Linked DNA regions of Homo sapiens: region 1 is linked to region 2. The links are contacts of gene promoters, found by promoter capture Hi-C in blood cells and fetal thymus (Javierre and others, 2016). All regions are on one chromosome and are shown on one strand. The core of a region is centred on a gene start or on the middle of the fragment in contact, and the rest is flanking DNA. Distances in the headings are between cores, read along the strand shown.

What was found. Contacts are between HindIII fragments. The CHiCAGO score rates a contact against its expected background, and 5 or more counts as called.
Region 1: the fragment with the promoter of LINC00544 here is called in contact with a fragment that was not itself captured in region 2 in 3 of 17 cell types (total CD4 T cells, naive CD8 T cells and naive CD4 T cells); the score reaches 5.7 in total CD4 T cells.

Annotation. Positions count from the first base shown.
Region 1 is chr13:29,934,055-29,940,210 of GRCh38, reverse strand. LINC00544 (long intergenic non-protein coding RNA 544) reads right to left here and starts at 3,680. Exons shown (of 5, transcript NR_033889.1): 1 at 3,510-3,680; 2 at 2,930-3,009; 3 at 2,202-2,305. RefSeq lists enhancers at 4,247-4,366, 4,497-4,616, 5,337-5,396. The HindIII fragment of the contact is 6,836 bases long and covers 927-6,156 here.
Region 2 is chr13:30,460,736-30,466,826 of GRCh38, reverse strand. HMGB1 (high mobility group box 1) reads left to right here and starts at 891. Exons shown (of 5, transcript NM_002128.7): 1 at 891-1,031; 2 at 3,133-3,296; 3 at 3,475-3,620; 4 at 4,115-4,289; 5 at 5,294-6,091. The coding sequence starts at 3,147. The coding sequence ends at 5,470. RefSeq lists enhancers at 1-707, 708-1,483 and silencers at 919-1,228, 1,828-2,467. The HindIII fragment of the contact is 4,528 bases long and covers 1-3,955 here.

The DNA of each region.
Region 1 (6,156 bases), core at 2,431-4,930, 530 kb after region 2:
GAGCTAGAGGTGAGCCTGTGCACATCTTACTGTCAGCACCACCTTCACCCAGCGCCATCACCAAAGATCACATCAGTAGGATTCAGGATGGAGACCAAAAGAGCCAAGAGAAGGCAGTGAAGACATTGCATAATGCTTATTAGTGAAGGTAACCACTCTTTCAAGGCTATCTGTGTCCTAGTCAAGGCACTGGTGACACACCGAATAACACAGTGGATGCAGCCTGACGTATCCCACTGTGAGTGACACTATGAATGAAGGCTACGCTGAGAAATCTGAAAGGTGCAGTAAAGGAAAAGGGAGAAACTGGCAAGACAAAGGGGAATTCAATCAAGACGTGTAAGTGGCTCTTCAAATTTCATACACCTGACTGACCTAATGGTTAAAAACTCAACGGCTGTGCTTATTCATTTATTCACTGATATTTTAAAACAAAAGTATCTTGAGCACCAGCTGCATGGCAGGTACTGTAGCTGGAGGCAAGAGATCCAGGGAGCATGGACATGGGCCCTGGCTGGAGCATCTTGGAAGGACAGTGGAGGCAACGACCATGTGGGTTGGGACTAAGGTCTTGCCTGGTGACATCTGAGCTCTCCTCAGCCTCCAAGTCCTCTCTCAAAGCCACAGCTTCATCCTTCTGCCCTTACACCTCGCTGATTTGCCTGATACCCTCTCTAAACTCCCCTTGCACTATGCCCTGTGTCACATGCTCCTCTGTGATTTAGTTTTTAATGACTTTCCCTATTCTAGAGCATCCTTCAACACATCCAAAGGGCAGAAACAATGCCTTTTCCCGCACACGAGGCCTCCTCCATGGTGGGGAGTTTGTGCATATTTTCATTTTTTGCCAACTCATCGTCACAGATCAATCTCCCTCTTATTCATGTGTCCCTTACAATTTTAGTAGATCCTCACATCCCTAAGCTTGGATCCTTTCCTTTCAGAGGCTTTGCATACCGCATTTCCCTAACAACTCTATAACCACGGGGTGCTTCTAGGAGTTTTGGTCTTCCCTTTTTGAGGCTTGGCCAAGATCATAAACCAGACCTAAGGGTGCCCACCTCTGTCAGGTGAAGAGGACACAGCAAAGCCACCTAAAATTGTCTCCTCCACTGGTTTTTCACATTATCTGAACCTCCACTATCATATTTACTCTTGTCACAGTCACTGTGTGAGAAAAATAATTTTTTTAAGAGTGGAAATGAGAAGATGAAAAGGGAAAAGGAAAGCATCACAATGCCACCCTTTGAGCCAAGAACTTTATTTAATTTTTTCCATGTCATATGGAATTGTACGTAGTTTCAGGTTTTCTTTTAAAAGCCTTTTGGCTCTTGAGTCAGGCTAGAATCCTAGATATGAATCCCACCTCTGCTCATTACTAGCTGGGTGATTTGGGGCAAGGGGCTGAACCTCTCTGTGCCTCAGTTTTCTCATCTGTAAAATGTGATTAACAGCAGCACCTACCTCATAAGGTTGTTGTAGGATTAAATGAGTTAATACAGTAAAGTGCCTGGCACATAGTGAGCACTCAGAAAAATGCTGGCTGTTATGAGGAAAGCAGGATATCTGGGCAGGATTGACAAAGGAGTGTGGCCGCACAACCACACAGATTTCTGTCAATTGTCTACGTAATAACTGTTGCTTCCAAGCAGCTCTCTGGCCAAGCCTTCCCCTGGGGACCCGGGCACTAAGGACACGAGGAAGCCCAGTGGAAAGGCCAGGCCAAGGGAGCGCTGAGGTCTGGGCCTGGCTGAGCATCTCCATGAGGGGCCCTCCGACAGCAGGTGGGAGGGCGAGATCAGGGCAAAGGGGGCCTGTGAGGAAGAGGGGATCATTACAGAGAGAACCAAGAGGAGTACAGGGTCAGCTCAGCCCACTTAGCACCTTTGCACCTGCCGGCCCTGATGACCGGCCATGATCGTTCCATTTTGGGGCTTTTGAAGAGGTGGGGAGGTCCTGGGCCCAGCCAGGACGAGACTGGGGAGTGTTCTGCGGCTGAGTTTGGCTGTGTAATTAAAGCCCTGGTGTCTAGTGCCGAGAAGAAAAGAGAAAACAGCATTGGAACCCAACTGGCAGATGTGCTTGTTGTGCTGAGAGAAATTCACAGAACCTTGTGGTGCCATCTGGCTGAGAGCTGACTGTTTGCATGATGCAGTTCTCACTTAAGGAGGTGAAGCATCAAACTCCCTGGCCCCACCCACCTGCCTCTGCATCTGGGCAGCTGAAGGTAAGGGCACTCAGCAGCCCCGATGTAATGCCACATCCCAGTGTGCTCAGGAGGAAGCCACCAATCTTTGTTCTCTGCCTAAGGAAAGAAAAACAGCTAAAACAAAGCATTCTAGGACTGACCTTTGGTACAATGTTGGAAATATGAAAGAAATATAAATGTAACATTTTAAATTTCTGAAACGAGGAATAATTATCAATTTCATATACACAAAGTAAGCCCAGTAGGCAGGCCTACTAGAGCAGTGGTCTCCAAATTTTTTGGCATTAGGGACGGGTTTCATGGAAGACAATTTTTCCACAGATGGGGTCCGGGGGATGATTTTGGAATGAAACTGTTTTGCCTCATCCTCAGGCATTAGATTCTCATAAGAAGCACCCAACCTAGAGCCCTCACTTGCGCAATTCACAATAGAGTTCACGCTTCTATGAGACTCTTATGCTACCGGCTGATCCGACAGGAGGCAGAGCTCACGTGGTAACGCTCACTTGCCCACCGCTCACCCCCGGTTGTGTGGCCCGGTTCCTAACAGGCCACAGACTGGGACTGGGACCTGCCCGAGGCTGTGGGGTTGGGGATCCCTGTGCTAGAGGCTCTCAGAAGCATTCTCCATCTCCAGATAATATTCTGTCCCTCCACATGTGAAGGAGACACAGAGCTTTCCTGATGGAGCCTGGCAGGTCTGTCTGTCTTTATACACACCCATTGTATAGAGAAGTATTCTGGATCCAGGGTATATCATGATCATTGTCAATTTTCAGAACATCTCCTGGGCTGGTGAACTGTGGTTAGATAATAAAGAGTTGCTGGTGAAATGCCTCAGGGTGTGGTTAGAAAAAAGAAAGAAAAACAAGTGGTAATATAGGGTGCGGGGGGAGGTATGGGGAGGCTGGGTAACTGTGATTTTTAACTCAAGAAGGAAAAAGGGAGAGGAGAAAAAATGAAGACTCTATAGCTCATCTAGAGTGAGCCAAATTGGATCCCAAACACTAACACTTAATGCACTAAAAACTGTATAATTCAAACATCTCTCAACACAGAAGATGGGTACCACGTGTGTAACAAAACATAATTGAGCTGAGGTGAATCCCTGTCCTTAAAAGAGGTTTATAAGCTAATAGTGGTGATGAAGGTGAGGAAGACTCTTAGTTCCACTCAGAAAGTGAGAGGATCTGAATACTCCAGAAAAGGAAAAAGATAAGAGGAGAGATGAAATGAGATTGGCAAATTGTTGATGATTGTTGAAACTGAGCAATGAGTATTGAAAGGCAGGGATCATTACCTGACTCTTCTATCCAGGAGGCCGTTAGTGGACCAGGAAGTCAGGACAAGATCTGAGGTGAAGAGCTGGTGAGGAGTGAGACAGCTGCCAAGGTCCACCTTGTTCCCCTAAGGAGCTGAGCTCTTTCTCTTCCTTCCTTTTAGACAGGTTCATTAAAGCTGGCCCACTCCACATGACCTAGAAGGACTGGGTCAACCCTGAAAGGTTTGCTCCATAGCCCAGAATGACAACCTCTGACATCACAAATGCAGGATTGGAGAAGGCATAGTTGGCATGCAAGCCGTATTGATTTTTTTACAAATCAGAGCTTCATGCTTGCTGCTGAGAACATTTCACCGGGCCACGAAGCTGCTGCAGGAAGTTTTCAAGTCCTCTCCTCTACACCGTGACCTTAACTTAGAGAGCACTCTCAGCCCCTCCTCCCATCCCCCCGCACCTGCCCAGGTGGGCCCCACTGCTCTCCACACCCACACCCACCTGGTCGTTGCTCTCTACCGAGGAGGCTCTCCCTGCTTTGCTGTGCTTTTGTCAACTTTCCTGCAGCTTCCCTGTTCTGGGAGGCTGAGCTAGAGTGGAAACGACCAGCTTCCCCAAACAGGCAGCTCCGAGAAGGCGTCTGCTCCGCGTCTGCTCCCACTGAGCCAAGGTCCAGCCCAAACGCTCAAATTAGAGCTTGTTAGCCAATTGCTGAAAAACTGCAGGGGGACTCATTTGTAAGCAAACTAATGAGACATCCCAGGATAGAAAGCCTGGTTTTATTTTTAGCATTTCAGAGCTGACACCCCAAACACCTCTATAACCACCTGCCAGTCTGAAGAGGGAACAAGCAGAGCTCAGGATGTGGTGCCGTGCGAGGGCGGTAAGTGGAAGGAAGCAGCGCATGGGGAGGGTGCCTTGGAGACCAGAGGAGCACAGCAAGGGGAGGATGCTCAGCTCTCACACCTGCTCTGTCTTGGTCATAATGAAAAAACAGCTCTGACACAGGGAGTGTGTCAGAACACCACAGTACCCTCTGGGACTGTGTGGGAAAACAAAAAACAAAAACCAAAACAAGGGAGACTCCTTCCCTCTTAACCTCAAATGGTCCCTCTTAACTCCAGACCCTTGAGCGTCTTGCTCCGCCACTGCATGGGGCAGGTGCAATGTACTCTGTGATCTGTGATCTCCTTGCTATATTCCTGGCAGGGGCTCTGCTACTGTGGGCTTTCACAGCATGACTCCAGCCTTGCTGCACTCAGGCCTCACTGTCACCAAGTGGGCTGGGGCTGCCCACCAGGGGGGCATGCAGGGCCTTTCCCTCTCCCCATGCCCTGGTCTCAGGTACACTGCTGCTGCATGCCAGCTCTTTTCTGCTGCATCCTATGCAGCCACTGGGCCACTTGCTCCTCCCAGGCAAATGCTGAAGAGACACTCTGCTCTTCAGCAGATTGGTGCACACCTATATTTAGCCACATTGTGGAATATAGTGACAATGATACTTTGTACTCAGGAGACACCTTTTATCAGAGGAGTGTGATGCACTCTGCAAACATCATCAGCACGGCACCCTTGGGGAGGAAAGACTGTGCCAAGTCTTCCAATCCCCAGGCTTACAGCTAGAGAGATTGAAGCCAGGGAGGCGGGGTGTCACCAGAATCTCCTAATGAGTCAGGAGGCCTGAACGGAGTGATGAGGTGCTCCTGGAAGGTTTTCATCACACCTGCCTCTTTCTGAGCCTGCAGAGCCTATAGTTCCCCCTAGAGCTGGTCCTCTCTCCCTCCCTGGCACAAAAGTGTTCCTTTGCTCACACAGCTGTCCCTGTGCCTGGACACACTTGTAACTTGACTTTAAAAGCCATCTGCCAGCTCACTAGAAACACAGACATGCTGTCTGTGCTGGGGCTTACATTTGCATCACCGCGGTACCTCGATGCTCAGGACAGATATTTCTACTCAAATCTATACCTTGCCTGAATGGAGCTATGAGGGTGTGACCCAGAGGAAGTGCTGTGAAACTCTGCATAAAGAGATTAGTTCAGATGCCCTCTCTTTTATGACACAGGGTAACCAATCAGATACTCCACTTCCCAGAAGTGGCTGGACACAGACTGCCCTGTAGTAGAGAGACAAAGCAGTGGGATGAGTGGGTCCTACGTAGGGATCCTCAGGGATTCCTTGGGCACAAGCAGGATCTCTCTTCTCAGAAAGAGCCAACAATACCATATGTTAGAAGCTCAAAACCAACTGTATTCTTTTCATTCTGTTATCACTGATAATTACTAGCATGCCTTTGTAGCAGATGCAACGGATGTGGCAACATTTCTCATGCCTTAGCAAGGCCGAAATGGCAAAAAGCAATGCTAACCAAAGGGTCTTTGGATAGAGAGTGTTCTGTGTAGGGGTAGAACAGTGCTTTGGTTCTGGACACAGGCTTTATATTCCCCAGACCCCAATATAAACCCCACTACATACCCTGTGCCACAACTGATGATTGACATGACTTCATAGTGAGGCGCAGTCTATGTCCTCCCTCCTCAAACCCAAGCAGATATTTGCAAATTCCTGTACCACTAGCTTATGGTGGACATGATGGGGTGTGACTTCCAAGACTAGAGTATAAAAGGCAATACCACGTCCATCTTGGCACCTTGCATTGCTCCCATGGCGAA
Region 2 (6,091 bases), core at 442-2,941:
CTAATGAATTTGCTAATTCTACCAGGGCCTCACAAACATTTCCTGCTAGAGTACCCCATATCAAACCAAGTGGCTGTTCTTTAATTACATGGAATAATTATTTGATTTCCAGGAAGTTAAGACAGTGCTTTGTATTTAAATAAAAAGTTCTAGACATGCTGTGAAACTCGATCAAACCAAGAAAAAGGGTGAAACTGAATGCCTGCTCACTGACTCAAGATTTCAGCTGCTCAGCGAGCCTGACGTGACGGCTTATGAGCCCAGAAAAGGGGTATTTTAAACCCGGCTGGCTGGATCATGTCACTTTCTTATAGAAGCCCTGCCTTTCCAGAGACCTAAAGTGTAACGCAATCAGAGACCTTTGAGGGGCTCGAGGCTCGGCGGCTTCCGCCCCTCAGCACCAGCAGAGACCCCAGTTTTCAGGGGACATGATCCCATAGTGTCGCCCTCACTTTTGAAGGGCCATTAAAAGCCTGGGGCCTCTTATCTCAACGGCTTTGGGCGTGAATGTGGGGCAAGAAGGGGGGGGGAGACCTGTGGGTGTCTCTTTTGCCTGAGGAGTTGGAGACACTTGTGGAAAAGTCAGGCCCTTTTCGCTCCGGCGGCCGCTCCGGTGTGGGGCTGGCTTGGGTTAGACACATGCACACATACACCATAGAGCTCTGCTTTCCCGTAGCAGCTGCTGCCTCTGCCTCTGCCTCTCCCGCCTCAGCCTCTTTGCCCGGCATACACACACATTCAGATTTGCGCGCTGTTTCAATCCTTGATGACGTGTCCCCGGAGACAGCCAATAGCAAACGGGCTCTGGTCAGGACAATGGGAGGTATCGGGCCAATGAGCGAGCCCCGTGAGTTGGCGGTAGCCAATAGGAGCCGCGCTGGCTGGAGAGTAATGTTACAGAGCGGAGAGAGTGAGGAGGCTGCGTCTGGCTCCCGCTCTCACAGCCATTGCAGTACATTGAGCTCCATAGAGACAGCACCGGGGCAAGTGAGAGCCGGACGGGCACTGGGCGACTCTGTGCCTCGCTGAGGGTGAGTCTGGGGCAGCGCCGCGGCGGGGAGAGCGCCTCCGGCAGCTCCCCAGCCCGCGCGGCGGCCGGATCCCCGCGGCCGGGAGCCGGCGGGTCAGGATCCACACAAAGGCAAATGAGGGGGGACCGTGGGGGGAACTGCGCACGGAGCGAGCCTCTGCCCGGGCGCCGGGAACGCTGCCCCGCGCCGGTGCCCCGGCCCTCAGGCAGCCTGAGGCGCCGGGAGCCCCGCGCCCCGCGAGTTTCCACCCCCGGCGGCGTCCGCGCTGACTGGCGCAAAAAAAAAAATTTTTTTTTTAATTAAAAAAATTTTGAACGTGTTTTGGGCCCTCGGGCCGGGCGTTCGGGCGGGCGGCGTGCGCGGAGCGCGGCCGGGGCGGCGGGGCCGGCGCGGCTCGGCGGCGGCGGCGGGAGGGCAGCGGCGGCGCTTCCCCGGGCTGCATTGGCCGCCGCCGCAGCGAGCCGGGCGCTGGCGGGGAGCGCGGCCAGCCGGGCGGGCGGCGGGGCGGGCGGGGCGCCGCGGCGGGCGAGGGCGGCGCGGGGGCCTGGGGGCGGCAGTGCGGGCCCGGCCGGCCTCGGCCCGGTCGCGGCGGCGGCGGCGGCCGGGCGGCGGGGGGAGCGGCGCCGCTGCGCTCGCTGGAACATGGCTGACTCGGGCCCGGCGCTGCTGGCTGGAGAGAAAACAAGGCGGGCGGGCGGGGGAGCTGGGCGCAGCAGTTCCGAGGCAACTTTTTTTTTCCTCTCTCTTTTCACAGCCCCGCGTTCTCCGTGCGGGGGCGGCGGGGCGCGCGGCCCGCGCGGAGGGAGACGGGGAGTGGCGGGCGGGTGGGCCCTCGGGCGGCCCCCACCGCGGCGGGGGGAGGGGAGCGGCGCGGAGGGGAGGGCCCGGCCGCGCGCCCCCCGCCCCTCCCCCGGCCGTAATGGCCGAGTGTGTGCGCCAGAGCGCGGCTCGCACCCCGCCCGCCGCCGCCGCCGCGCCCGCACCCTCGCACTCACACACTCTCTCATACACACACACACACACACACACACACAAAGGGAAGGAGCCATATTCTCGCTCGCGCTCGCCCTCGCGGCGGCGGCGGCGCAGGCGGAGAAGACGCGCAGCGGCCATTCCGTGCGCGCCGGCCCCGGCGGCCGCGGGCGGAGCCAGCCCCCATTTCGAGCGGGGCTTCTCCCTGCGCCGAGCCTGACAAAATGGGGGCGGCGGCGGCGCGGGCCTGCAGGGCCTGCCGGGCGCACGTGGCGGCCTCGGGCCTGGGAGCCGGGCCGCGTCCTCTCTCCTCGGCCGCGCGGCCACCGGCGAAGTTCTAGGGGCGGGGGGCTCGCCCCGCGCAGGAGTCACCCCAACTTTCACGGCTCCAAAAAATACTTCCCGAGTTGGGGGAGGGGGCCACCGAGCCACGAGCAGGAGTGGCTTTTGTCCCTCATCCTTGTTTACTCGGAGAAACTTCAGACCGGACGTGTTTAGTCAGAACAGAAATACATCTCAGGGCCAAACCGATAGGAAACGAGGCTGCCTCGCGGTGGCACCGCCACCCCCCAACCGGGTTCCGAGCACCGGAGCTGGCTGCTGCTCCCTCTTTGGAGCAAAGTTTTATGCAAAGAGGGTGTTTTTTGAAACTTTCGGTGCACGGTGATTTTTTTTTTTTAAGGTCCCATAATTAGGAAGAGTCGACTCGCTTAGGCCCTTGTTTATTCCCTATCTAGTGCAAAGCCACGAATTGGCAGCATGTTTTCTGACCTTTGGTTTGGTTGGTTTAAAATGGTGTTCTAGATTTTAAAATCGTTTAAGTGACCAGTTAGATACTCATTCAGAGCAGACTCGGGCGGATAGATAGGGAATACTGTATGGGTATATCTTTGTGTCTAGACTTTTTGAGATCGCCCTGAAGGACTGTTTTTGTTTTGTTTTGTTTGCTTGGCATAGCCCCTTCAAGGAATTTAATCTCTCGGCCATATTCTTGTCTGATTTTACGGAGGTTGATGTCGCTACTGTGTTAAATAACCAGTACTTTGGTTTTCATTCCCTTACTAAGTACTTTAAGGTCTTATATGTCATAATTTTATTGCTAACATCAAATATTTATTTTATTTTTTAGAAAAATAACTAAACATGGGCAAAGGAGATCCTAAGAAGCCGAGAGGCAAAATGTCATCATATGCATTTTTTGTGCAAACTTGTCGGGAGGAGCATAAGAAGAAGCACCCAGATGCTTCAGTCAACTTCTCAGAGTTTTCTAAGAAGTGCTCAGAGAGGTGGAAGGTAAGAGGGCTTAAAACATGCTAACAAGGTAATTAAAAGACAGTTTCCAATTGAGGATGCAAAAAAAAGCCTAGTTGGCATTCTCGTAGTGGGACGCTATTACATAGCAAAAGACATTGGTTTTGAGGATAATTTACTTAAATGTTACAACTTAAACTTACAAATAATTATTTTGTAGACCATGTCTGCTAAAGAGAAAGGAAAATTTGAAGATATGGCAAAAGCGGACAAGGCCCGTTATGAAAGAGAAATGAAAACCTATATCCCTCCCAAAGGGGAGACAAAAAAGAAGTTCAAGGATCCCAATGCACCCAAGAGGCCTCCGTGAGTATCTTGCCTGTTTTTACTTCCCAGACACGTTTTACAGTAGAATCTGAGAGAAATTTAGCAAGCTACTTTGTCAGTTTAGAGTGTAAATGTACAATCAAAGTTTCTTAGCTAATACTTGTTCATATTGGTTATATTTAAATAGTATAAAATTCCTGTTGGGTGGGAGTGTTCCCAGAGCATTTGAATTAGACATTTGGTCTCCTTTGCCCAGTGTATCTCCTTTTGATCTTTTTATTTCTTGAAAAATACTATCCCTTTGAAATAGTGTAATTGTAGAATGTTCATCTAGGGTTCTAGCTAGTATAAATTAAATAGTTGTAAATTAAGCTTTGGTTGTGAAGGATATTTAGTATATTATAGTATTTGCACCCTGTCCAATGCATCACAGAAATTCACAGGCAGCTTTAAATAGCAATGCAGTGTACACTTGATAGTATTTGTTTTTGTGATCTGTTAACTTAAAATCCTAAAATTAATTTTTTTTTTAGTTCGGCCTTCTTCCTCTTCTGCTCTGAGTATCGCCCAAAAATCAAAGGAGAACATCCTGGCCTGTCCATTGGTGATGTTGCGAAGAAACTGGGAGAGATGTGGAATAACACTGCTGCAGATGACAAGCAGCCTTATGAAAAGAAGGCTGCGAAGCTGAAGGAAAAATATGAAAAGGTAAGAAGTGTGGGTTTGCTTGGTAAAATGATGACAAGTACGCCAGATGTATGATTGTACTTAGTTTGAGGTGTAATAAGTTTTTAGGGTAACAGCTACATTAAGTATGGTGTTGATATAAGTCCTCATCCTTCAAAGAATGCAGAGGACCAAATAAATTAGGGTTTTTTTGACTAAAATGTAATCAGACTCAGACAAAGGCTGTGTACATTTATGTTGGTTTTGTTATTCCCCAGTATCTTGAAGTTCATGAAAATGTTGGTAGTCACTTCAAGTCAAAAATGAGCATTTTCAAATGGCTTGGCATACAGTACAAAAACAGGCTAGACAAAGTAATATAGGCTATATTTTTCTTAGTCATATCCTGAAACATTTATGTTCTTTTCCTTTAGATACTCAAAAAACCACAGCATCACTAAGTTAAATTACAAGTCTGCTGCTCTGTCCAGTAAATTAATAAGATTAAGGAAATCTATAACTCTTATAGTTCAGTAAATTGAAATATTAAATACTTAATTTTCAGCTTTAGTCATTCTGAAAAGTGTTTATTTCTAGATGTTTCTTAACCTAATTGCATGTTTATTGACAAATTACCTTTTTTTTTTAAGACCACATTTCCTACTAAGGATTAAGGTCTGACAGTGTAAACCTGTAGAGTGCTTTTTTGCATTCAGAAGGTGGCAGTGTCTACCCTTTAATCAAAGTCTCTACATTCTGGTTTTAATAGAGTTAGGATGTGGTACATAATTGCACCTCAATGAGGCATAACTTTGCAAATATTAGACTATGCCATTTCATGAGTTATAGATTGTTATAATGATCTTGTATTTTTATGTTCATTTATTGAAGTTCTAGTTATTTCTGGAGTTGCTGTGGATCTACAGATACGTGATATTTTGGTATAACTAGAATCTTGATTTCTTTCATAAAGTTCTGCCATGTTCTATTTCTTTCCTTAATGTTTTTTTCTTCCCTACTGTTTTATCCTCCCTTTGCTTTGGAAGGATATTGCTGCATATCGAGCTAAAGGAAAGCCTGATGCAGCAAAAAAGGGAGTTGTCAAGGCTGAAAAAAGCAAGAAAAAGAAGGAAGAGGAGGAAGATGAGGAAGATGAAGAGGATGAGGAGGAGGAGGAAGATGAAGAAGATGAAGATGAAGAAGAAGATGATGATGATGAATAAGTTGGTTCTAGCGCAGTTTTTTTTTTCTTGTCTATAAAGCATTTAACCCCCCTGTACACAACTCACTCCTTTTAAAGAAAAAAATTGAAATGTAAGGCTGTGTAAGATTTGTTTTTAAACTGTACAGTGTCTTTTTTTGTATAGTTAACACACTACCGAATGTGTCTTTAGATAGCCCTGTCCTGGTGGTATTTTCAATAGCCACTAACCTTGCCTGGTACAGTATGGGGGTTGTAAATTGGCATGGAAATTTAAAGCAGGTTCTTGTTGGTGCACAGCACAAATTAGTTATATATGGGGATGGTAGTTTTTTCATCTTCAGTTGTCTCTGATGCAGCTTATACGAAATAATTGTTGTTCTGTTAACTGAATACCACTCTGTAATTGCAAAAAAAAAAAAAAAGTTGCAGCTGTTTTGTTGACATTCTGAATGCTTCTAAGTAAATACAATTTTTTTTATTAGTATTGTTGTCCTTTTCATAGGTCTGAAATTTTTCTTCTTGAGGGGAAGCTAGTCTTTTGCTTTTGCCCATTTTGAATCACATGAATTATTACAGTGTTTATCCTTTCATATAGTTAGCTAATAAAAAGCTTTTGTCTACACACCCTGCATATCATAAT